Linked DNA regions of Homo sapiens: region 2 is linked to region 1. The links are contacts of gene promoters, found by promoter capture Hi-C in human tissues and cell types (Jung and others, 2019). All regions are on one chromosome and are shown on one strand. The core of a region is centred on a gene start or on the middle of the fragment in contact, and the rest is flanking DNA. Distances in the headings are between cores, read along the strand shown.

Region 1 (4,993 bases), core at 1-2,500:
TGCTTAATGCAATCTTGAAGCAGACAAGTGCCCAGTACATGTTGGTGGCAGTTAGATGTAGAAAAGGGATCATGACAGAAGACTTGTTAACTGCCTCCAAATAACGCAAAACTTAGCATTACCTGGAAGTTTACCGTGGCTCAGACTCCAGTTTGATAACTTACAAAAGATTCAAGTATATAAGCATGAATGTCAGTTTATTCACTGCCAGACTTAATTCATCTCTTTTCCCTACCCCACATCAGGAAATGTATCTCCTGAGATCCTCTCCTGAATATTAATGGACAAACTCCATCAATATCTCATTACTATTTTTTTGACACAGGGTCTCACTCTACTGCCCAGGCTGGAATGCAGTGGTGCGATCACGGCTCACTCCAGGCCCAAGCGATCACCTCAGCCTCCCGAGTACCTGGGACTACAGGCATGCGCCACCAGGCCCGGCATTTTTTTTTTTTTTAAATATTTGTAGAGATGGGGTCTCCCTATGTTGTTGCCCAGGCTGGCCTGGAACTCCTGGGCTCAAGCCATCCTCCCACCTCCCAATCCCGGTGCTGGGATTACAGGTATGAGCCACCGAGCCTGGCTGCAGTATCTTATTTTTTAACTCTGTTCAACACTGACCCCACACCCCTTTAGATGCTCGCACCTATACGCTCTACCTTTCACACATATTTTTCAGATTAAGCAAAATACAATTTATTCCACTGAATAGAAAACGTTGCCTTCCATATCTGTCTTTGAATTTGTAGTCGTTCCGATTATAATTTGAGTTCTCAAACATTTGAATTACACAGTCTCTTGGTTCACTCCGACAGGTGTTTAAACAGGTGTGCGTAGGTCTTTCTACTTCAGCTCTCAGAGCCGGTCTTGTTTGCAGGTTAGTGGGTGGCGCACCTCGCGGTTGCTCCCACCCCACCCTTAGTAACAGGGTTTGAGTAGGACCCTGGGGTGGGGGAGTGGATGCTGCTGTTTCAAGCTCGTTCGCCCAAATACATCTTTCTACCCACCTTCCCTATCGTCAGAGAGGTGGCCTGACCCCAGCACGTGCAAGCTTGTCAGGCTGGGTAAGTTCCAGAACCTTCTGGAGCCAGGATTCTCTTTCCCAGCCCTGGGCCCTGAGCTCGGCGGATGGGATCTGCGAGGCTCGGGGCGCAGGGGAAATGGGGGCGTGTTCCTTTAAGGCGGAACCAGGCGGGGAGTGGGACGTCCCCCGCGGGCACAGCCCGAGCCGCACCTGGGGCCCAATTAGCCTGGAGCGCGGCCGGGTGTGTTGAACGTAGCAACCGCGGGCGGCGGGCGGCGGGCGGCGGGCGTCTGGGGCGGGCGGCGGCCGCGCTTCCCGGGGCTCCTGGCCCTTCGGCCCTCGGGGGTCTCACGGCGCTGGGACGAGGCGGGGCTGCTCTCCGCAGCCGGGGCGCTCGGCGGACGGACCCGGGCCGGGGAAGGGCGACCCCAGCGGCGCGGAGCTGAGCGTCCTCGGGGAGGAGAGGGAGCCAGGGGCCTCCGGGGCTCCGGGTGCGGGGACCTCAGGCTCCTCGCCCCGGCCCGGGCCGCCTCGGCCGGATCTCCGCGGTCTGAACTCTCGGGCGGCGGCGAGGACGGCGTGTCCACTGTCGAGGCATGAAGGCTGCTGTGCTGGACCTTGGGTCTCTCTTGGCCAAACTCTTCGAGACCTCGACGGCGCCCCCCGCAGGCCCCTCCTCCAGACCCTCGGGAGGTGCTGCCGCTGCAGGGTCGGGGGGCTCCAGGGCGGGCACCCCGTTGGGTACCGCCCCGACCCTCCTCCGCGCCCTGGCTCCGGACTCCCCCTCCGCCTCGCGGCGGTCGCCCGCCCCGCTGCTCTCCTCCCCCTACTCCCGGGGCTCCGCCGCCAGCCGCGCCGCGGGAGCAGTGGGGACCCTGCTCTCTTGGCCCAGTAGCCCTAGAGCGGGTAAAGCCCCGCCCCAGCCCCCCACTCCCTCCGGCGGGGGCTGCTCCCCTGCTCGCCTGGTGGTCCCAGCGCGGCCGCCCTCGGGCCCCGGCGGGGTCTGGGCCGCGCTCCCCAGGAACCCGCTCCAGCCTGGCCCCGGAGAGCGAGAGCTCGGCGCCTGCGTGGCCCCCGGGGCTGGCCCCAGAACCCTGTTCCTTACGCTGCCTGACATCGGCGAGGAGGGGGCCTCGGACGGCGACTCCGGGGATGGCGAAGCGTGAGTAGCAGCGTGGTCCGGGCGCGTGTACCTTTTGCCGGGACCCCCGACCCCTCCGCCTGCCGCACTCACCTTCGCAGGTGCACTTCAGGAAATGAAATATTTGTAGTAACTTTCATAACCCCCTGGGCACCCTCCTTGCACGTTTCCTGGGTTTTTACTCCTTGGCTTTGCGGGCTTTCAGACATAAGCTGTGACATGCTTTGTCCAGCTTTCTCAGAGTGAATCCTAAGGGGCCTTGAAGGAAGGGACAGAATTTTGTTTCTCTTCTACCAGAAGCATTGCTACTTAGAGTGTTTGTTTGGTTTTCTTAAGGACTTTTTGAAGTCCCTTTCTTTGTCTCAGAATATAGCAGGTGTGCAGGGAAACCGAATACACACGTCTGCAGCAAGTGTTTTAAGAAGTGGTGAGACCTGGTGCTTTCCTAATGTCTAAGGACCAGTCCCTAGTCTTATCCTAAGTGGGATGGGTCTCCTTTGTGTGACATCTAGTTAATTTACATATGCATGACATCATCTGACACAAATGGAGTTGTAATGGCCAGGACACGTCTGATTATTACCCTAGAGCTCCTGAGAGCTTTCCACAGTGCCCTGAGTCACTGCAGAAACGTTGACTTCATGGGAACATTTTCACTGGGAATCGGAGGCCGATTCCCTCAACACACACACACCCACACAACACCCCTTTCACTTCCAAGAGTCGTGATAAAAACATTGCTCTTTTAAAATGTGTTTTAGAACTAGGATGAATTTTAATTTTTAGAGTGGAGCATATCGTTAGCTATTCTTGAGTGGGTAAATTTTCATCCTGAATGCTGCAAAGAAATAGTGAAATGGTCAAAGACAGATGAGCCAATTCACAGACTGAGGTTTCTGCATTGTAATCTAGTGAGGCCATTCCCTACTCCCTCCAAAAAATCCTGAGTAATTTTTGCATTCATACTGATCCTGACTCACTCACAATTTAAATAATTACAGTTTCACAAAATTGAATGATATTCATGTCAATATGAAAACAAGCGGCCGGGCACGGTGGCTCACGCCTGTAATCCCAGCACTTTGGGAGGCCGAGGCGGGCGGATCATGAGGTCAGGAGATCGAGACCATCCTGGCTAACACGATGAAACCCCGTCTCTACTAAAAATACAAAAAATTAGCCGGGCGTGGTGGTACGTGCCTGTAGTCCCAGCTACTCGGAAGGCTGAGGCAAGAGGATGATGGCGTGAACCCGGGAGGCGGAGCTTGCAGTGAGCCAAGATCGCACCATTGCGCTCCAACCTGGGCGACAGAGAGAGAGACTCCGTCTCAAAAAAACAACAACAAAAAAGAAAATAAGCAGTTAAGCAAAAAGTTGTTCCCACTCATTAAAAAATACTATATTATGACATATGTTTATCAACTGATAGTTTTCCCTATCAGTTAATTGCTTTTGGAAAACTCACTGGAATACATATGCCTGAGGAATTAGATCTTTGTTATTGGCAACTGGTCCTTAACATTTATGCAATTAATGTTTTATGAGCAAACAGATCTACACACTGACCTTAAACTCTAGTCTTAGTGCTTTTAACAAATAGGCACTGAAATATGCAGCATGGCCAGTGAAACTGGTGTTAGTTTCAATTCTTGAACATATTAGCTCATGTTTATATTGTGCAAATATTTGGAATAGATACTTTTTGAATAACACTGCATTTGGCATTATTTACATAAGAGATTATTCTGAATTAACAAATGCATTCAATTTTATGGACAGTGAAGAAATTGAATTTTTAAATTATTATTACTTTTTGAGATGAGGTCTCCTTCTGTCACCCAGGTTGGAGTGCAGTGGTATGATCACTGTTCATTGCAGCCTCAACCTCCCAGGCTCAAGCGATCTGATTCTCCCGTCTCAGACTCTCGAGTAGCTGGGACTACAGGTGTGAGCTACTATGCCTGGCCAATTTTAAAAATGTTTCTGTGGAGACGGGGTCTCCCTATGTTGCCCAGGCTGGTCTTGAACTCCTGGCCTCAAGCAATCTTCCCACCTGGGCATTGCTGGGATTACAGGCATGAGCCACTGCATCTGGCCATGAAATTGAATTTTAGGTAAGTGCCATGAGAAGTAATATACACAGCTAGGTGCTTTGCAGAATCCTCCTGAGTTTGTGTGTTCCTACTGTCTGCAGCAGCAGGTAGAGGCACACACAGGCAGGAAGCAGACTGGCCCTCTGAGCATACCATTTTTCCTTTCAGATCCACGACTACTCACATTCCCTTCCTCTCATCATACCCCACTCCTTTTTCAATCACTAAAACATAAGAGACAAAGGGGAAGGAAGAAAGTATTAAGACGGCTTTTCTTTCAATACTGCAGACTTTGCACCTTGAAGGATTCTTTTTCCCTCCTGGATTTCTGTGGTAGTGATTTATAACACCGAATAAACAAACATAAGACAATGAATTTAAATTTGCTCCTACCATCTCATCTGTCACTTGGCAGATAGCTGCTGCTGTTAGCCTGTGTGGTTAATATTAAAATCAGGAATTTAAATTTCAAAAGCCTGGAAACTTGGAAAGGGAGAAATGGGTAATGTCAGAGAAAAAGTTTAAAGAGTGATGAGAATGTGAATACATATAAAGGAAACCGTAAACCTGTCTGCAAGAAATGCGGATCTAATTTTAAAGCTGTGGCCCTGAGTTCTAAAGGAAAACCCTATTAGCAGTTTGTACTTTTTTGACAATAACGCATACATTTTACATTTGCCTGATTCTGTACTTGGCTTTAAAAAAAAAAAACAAAAAACTAAAAGTAGTGAA
Region 2 (5,520 bases), core at 1,634-4,133, 460 kb before region 1:
TACCAAGTCCTGATTTATAGTAATGCATCTCTATGATAGAATATGGAAAAGGAAGCAGAATATCTACCATCTTGCATCATACCTTAGAATGGCAGTTTTCCATGAATTATGCTTTTGTTTATTTAAATAGTCAATTTATAGTTACAATGGGCAACTATCTAGAATGCATGCCAATAGAAATTAGCAGAGAAAACACCCAAAACAATGATAGCTGGTAATTATCGATAACTTTGGAATGCAATGAAAGGCACATGTTTGAGCAGAGTTGTGTTAAAGGAAGTGTTAGTGGCAGAACTAGAATTTTCTCTTTGCTGTGGTTGCCGTATTGAATCTTTTAAGTCATGCAATAATTAAATGTCCTATGGTGACCTGGAGGCACTGCTAAGGAACACAGAAGCCTCGCAACAGTCAGTGACACACATACAGATGGTCAGTCAACAGATGGATATACACACAAATCACTAATCTCAGTAATTTAACACTTTCCATGTGGAACATGGACATTCCTTTGAGTACAGCACTAATATTAACACTCAGAAACTCATTTAGGAGGTATGATTATGGTTTACTCTAATTGCTCATAAAAGGCAAAAGAGCAAAGATACTGATATGCATCTTTCTAGCCTTGGTGTGATTTTTTTGTTGTTGTTTCTTTTCATTAAAAAAAAAAAAAAACCCACCAGCAAACCTCCGTTTAAAACTAACTTTGTTAGTCATCAGTGCAAGAGGACGTGTTCAAGAAAAGCTACAACTATAAATCACAAGTGATCCTTACTTAAAAGCTACCAAGGGTGAACAACTTTAAAAATTTTAGTGTTTTCTATAATTTAAAAGCATTTAATTGCTTTTGTGGTTATCGAGATTCCACTAAGTATTCTCAGTGAGGCATGTGCTTTCTATACGTTGTTCTAAACAAAAAGAAGTGCCAGGGCTATTTTGTTTTTCAAATTACGCTCATTCCATTTTAAGTTTTAATGACATTGACTACCGTGTTTTATATTTATTGTGGTTTCACAATAAATGCTATATACATTATTAGTTGGGATAATTCTTAATGGTCATCAGATGAAACTCCTTAAATTTTTATAGTTAAGTATTGACTGACAATCTTTATTGATAAAGAAGCTTAAGTTCATTAAGGGTTTAAGTTGCATTTCAACTCTGCTACAGTGTTTTCAATGACTATTTTCTTCTGCTTTTATCATTATGTTCAAGTTTAGTTATTGTAGGTTAGGGTAACATTTTCATATATTTTTTTTTTACTTTATCAAGCATACAGAGGTCCTAAACAAATGCTTTATTAATTTTTTTTTTTAAATTTAACATTACTCACCTACAAACATATCCAATGCAATGGGATATAAAGGTTTTAGTAATATAATCCCAGCAGAGTTTTTATGATTGTCTCATGGAAAAATTAAATTGTGGAAATACGGTTCTGATTTGTGGTTCGAGTCAGTTCAAGGCAAATTCCTGGTGACTGCTAAGTACTTTTCCAGATCAAACATTAGGCCCAATTAATTAACATTTCTAAATTTACAGTCACATGAGTATTTATGAGCTTCAAAAAAGTGCGCTCACTTTTACTTTCCCTGTTAAAGAACATAAACGCATATGCCACTGATTCCTAAGGAAGATCTCTTTGCCAGGGTCTTGGGAAGATTTTTGTTCAAACAGTACTACCCCCCTGCCTTCTCTGTATCCCAGGGAATCGTGGAATTATGAGTCACTACTAATAGCAGTGTGTCAAACCCCTCCAAGAATGTTTTGAGACCCACTGGGCCTTTTGCACTAGAAATATATAGGCTTCATGGATAAACAACAGAACAAGGATTCAGTCCCTCACCAACTTTTTCCACTGACTGCAAGGGTGAAACCTGTGTTCCTTCATTCACTTAGAAATTCCACGAATGCATATTCACTGAACACCTGCTACAGGCCAGGCATCGTCCCAGGTGTTGGGATACAACTGGTGGACCAGTCACAGCCCTCGCCTTCAAGAAGCTCAAGATCTCATGAGGAACACAGTGTGCCATGGGCACACAGCAGGGAGAGCCTCCAACCTAATGCAGAGGAGTCAGGCACATTCCCTGGGGGAGGTGGGACTGTGCTGGGACCTGGAGGATGGGATAGAATTCTCCATGTGAAGGAAGAGGTGGTGGGGAGAGCTTTTCCTGGTGGGGAGGTGCAGCCTTTACAGAGGCCCAGCAATGCGGGAATTGAAAGTTCTCTGTGCAGCTGGAACCTAGCGAGGCAGGGAGGGTGGGAGGAGAGATGAGGCTGGAGAGGTCAGCTGGAGCCCAGTCACAGGTCTTCTATAAATTATGCTCAGGGTTTCAGATTTTGCTCGAAGGACAGTGAAGAGCCAGAGAAAATTTTGAGCTGGAGGTTTTATAAAGATTTTCTAAAGATTGCCTTCGCTGTGGTGTGGAGACTAGACTGGAGAGGTAGGGAAATGAATCAGGTGGCTGTCACTGTAGCCCAGGCACGGACAATTGTGGGCCAGAAGAGAGGAGCAGCAGTGGCACTTCTCCTGGCAGGCGACACTGAGTCCACTGCAGGAGAGGGGAAAACCCAAGATGACCCTTTGGAAAAGTGGGCAGATGGAGAGGCCATGTAGAGATTCAAAAGAGCAACACAGAATTGCCCAGGTGTTGTGTATATTTTTCAAAAATTGAAAATGAAAAGAGCAAAGGAATGCTTCCAAGGCATCTTGGAGTCAAAAGACATGAGAATGCATGAATAAGACCTTGATACCCCTCAGCGCTGGCCATCGCTGCGACGCCACTCTCATTCAGCACGCCTGCTCTTCAACCTCTAGCCTGTATTTTCAACACTTCAGAATCTTATGTAAACTATATCAGTACGCGGCCAGTCTCTACATCACCACGGCCCACTTGGCTCTTTTTGTTTTCTAATTTATAGAGGCAATTGAAACGAAGTCAGGACTAATTTTTTTAAAAAGATGATGAGCTGGTCCTACACTGGAAAGGCTGGCCAACATGTCCCATATGGCCAGCTCAAACCATTCTGCTTAAGGCTGGTCCTCTCCAAAATTGTTTAGGAGGGTTAACATTTTTGGTTCTTTCTATTTCTCCATAAGATAGCCATTCTCACTTCCTTCCAAGTTTCTAAGTTCCTTCTACTTATCTTCTCCTGTGGCTGCAGAGACCTATCCACACTCGAATCTCTGTCACACTCATGGCTCCAGAGTTTCCTGTCTTACAACCAGTCACATCTACTGGTCCTGTGTGGTAACTACTTAGGGCCTAAGTTTCTGATAAAGTAAATCAAGTATACTTTATTGTAAATTAGCCAATAAATAAATTAATTTATACTGCAAAATCATCAAATAAGGGAATCAAATAACTGCTACTTCAATGTGTTTCCTGCTCAGCCACACCTGGAGTGGCTGTACAGCAGCGACCAAGTGCACCAGGCATCAGTATGCCTGGGCTCAACTCCTAGTTCTGGCTCCCACCATGTGTCCCTGGGGCAAGGCGAGCTAATGTGTGTTTCAGTCTCTTCATCTGTAACATGGAAATGCCATGTGTCTGCTTAATAGGGCTGCTGGAAACTTTACATGAGATAAGGCATAAATTACTAATTACAGCGCCTGGCATATAGTGAGTGCTCAATAAAGATTTACAATGATTGCTATTGCTATTATTATTGCTATTGTAAAACGAGGAGTCTTTAAAGTCTTTTTTAACCCAAAGACAAGAGTAATGTGACAATTTCAATAACAATGATAGGGTCAATGTATAAACCCTAAAGGGAGCAAAGGGAGGGTTTTTTAGGTGTGCGTCTGTTTTAACCATATAAGAGGCTGTTTACTTTGCACAAACTCAGATCTAGTCTTGCATAGATATTAAATGATAGACTTGAAGTTCCTCAAGGTAGAGAGTGTGTCCTGTTCCCCGCTGTGCACCTCACATAAAGCCTGGCATGTAGCTGGTGCTCAGTCAGTTTTACTGAATGACTAAATAATAGAAACATCGTGGTGGGAGAGCGTCTAAAACCAATCCTGTTTCCTGACACCACGGCTACCAAAGCATTCCAATACCATTACCATGTTCGTTATCCTAAGAGTCTCATAAATTACTAGAAAGATCATTAAAATTTTGTTATTTAATTTAAATCTGAGATATATTATTTCACTGTTTTCAATTTTCTGCAATGATGACATTGTGTTTCACTCAATTCTCATTCTGGAAATTTCAGAGTAGCATGATACTCAATCACAGAAACTAGTAAATGGGTTACAAGTTTGCAATGGTGCCTGCAAATCAGTGATTTTTTTTTTCTTTCAGTTTTTCTTTTGTAGTCCTGTTACTCTAAAAGATATGAGTTATTTAAAGAAAGGGTAAGAAGGCTTAGACAAATATCATGTATGAATTATCTGATGATAAGGTTTTGAACATGCTTCTCCAGAACACAACCGCAAACACAGGGTTTCAAAGACTCAATCAAGGACACTCATGTTGGGTGTGGCAAGGCTAGAGTTTCCAATTAAACCACAGGGCTGGCCTTGGATTATATATGAGTGTGATTTCTTGGAGACTCTTGAAGGAGCTCCACAAAGAAAACTCTCTTTTTCCTGTTCACTGACACCTAAAATTCTTTTAAAGCAAAAATGAGAGTAAATTGCAATTGATTGCAAATGTTTTCCTAGAAGTAGGCTTGGAAGGAGATGCAGAGGAACTGTGGAGTTTCAAAGAAAATCCTGAGGACACTGATTTCTGAGGGGAAGCAAAGGACATGCAAGGGAGTATTGGGGAATCAAAACCAAAGAAGGCCAAGGGAAGACCTATGTGTGAACCTGCGCTTCGAGGAGGCAAGTGGTTCTTCTTAAGTGTATAGATATTTTTGTTTGCATATAATTAAATAATTGGAAAAAATCCTGCAAAGTGAAATATAATCTTGATCCATTAGAATGACAATCAATCAGGAAGCTTGAGGCTTGGTAACCTGAGGAGGGATTTAATAAGAAGCAATTAAAACAACTTGTTATGAAAAGGGCATTTGGAAAATTCTCCCTTCATCCAAAGAAATATTAAAAAGCCAATATGGAAAACAAGGGATGGAACTGCCTGGGTCCATGTATATTGGGGAGATTAATTAATGATTTTTCTCATTAGCAAGCTATGATAGCAATTAAGTATTGCACTTATGAACTTTTTTAAAAGTTAAACTCTGATTAATGATTAGGCACAGTTAGAGTTACATGCAAATGAATCTTGCATATAAATATATATATGTGTGTGCATACACATGTGTATATATGTGTATGTATATACACCTGCATGTGTGTGTGTATATATATATATATAAATACACACACATACACACACACATACACTTGTATTTGGTCAGTAAAGACAATATATTAGAACATGTATCTTTCAATTCTGAGATGAGATGTACAAATCATTATACAAAATAAACATGATTTCTAAGTGATTACCTTTGTGACAAAAATTGCTAATGGGTCTGAAATTCAGGTTTATTGGGGAGCCC

Evidence for each region. Contacts are between HindIII fragments. The study calls those that stand out against the background at their distance.
Region 2: a contact is called between a fragment that was not itself captured here and the fragment with the promoter of FAM149A in region 1, in 4 of the 25 tissues and cell types used here (bladder, dorsolateral prefrontal cortex, ovary and 1 more).

What each region holds. Positions count from the first base shown.
Region 1 is chr4:186,103,454-186,108,446 of GRCh38, forward strand. FAM149A (family with sequence similarity 149 member A) reads left to right here and starts at 1,251. Exons shown (of 14, transcript NM_001395294.1): 1 at 1,251-2,189. The coding sequence starts at 1,624. It overlaps LOC124900171 (a long non-coding RNA gene), which reads left to right and starts at 4,241. Exons shown (of 2, transcript XR_007058421.1): 1 at 4,241-4,282. RefSeq lists a silencer at 1,171-1,230. The HindIII fragment of the contact is 14,554 bases long and covers 1-4,993 here.
Region 2 is chr4:185,641,101-185,646,620 of GRCh38, forward strand. The region is part of intron 13 of SORBS2 (sorbin and SH3 domain containing 2); the gene reads right to left. Among named protein-coding and RNA genes, the nearest start is that of SORBS2-AS1, 56 kb to the left of the region's middle. The HindIII fragment of the contact is 5,438 bases long and covers 165-5,520 here.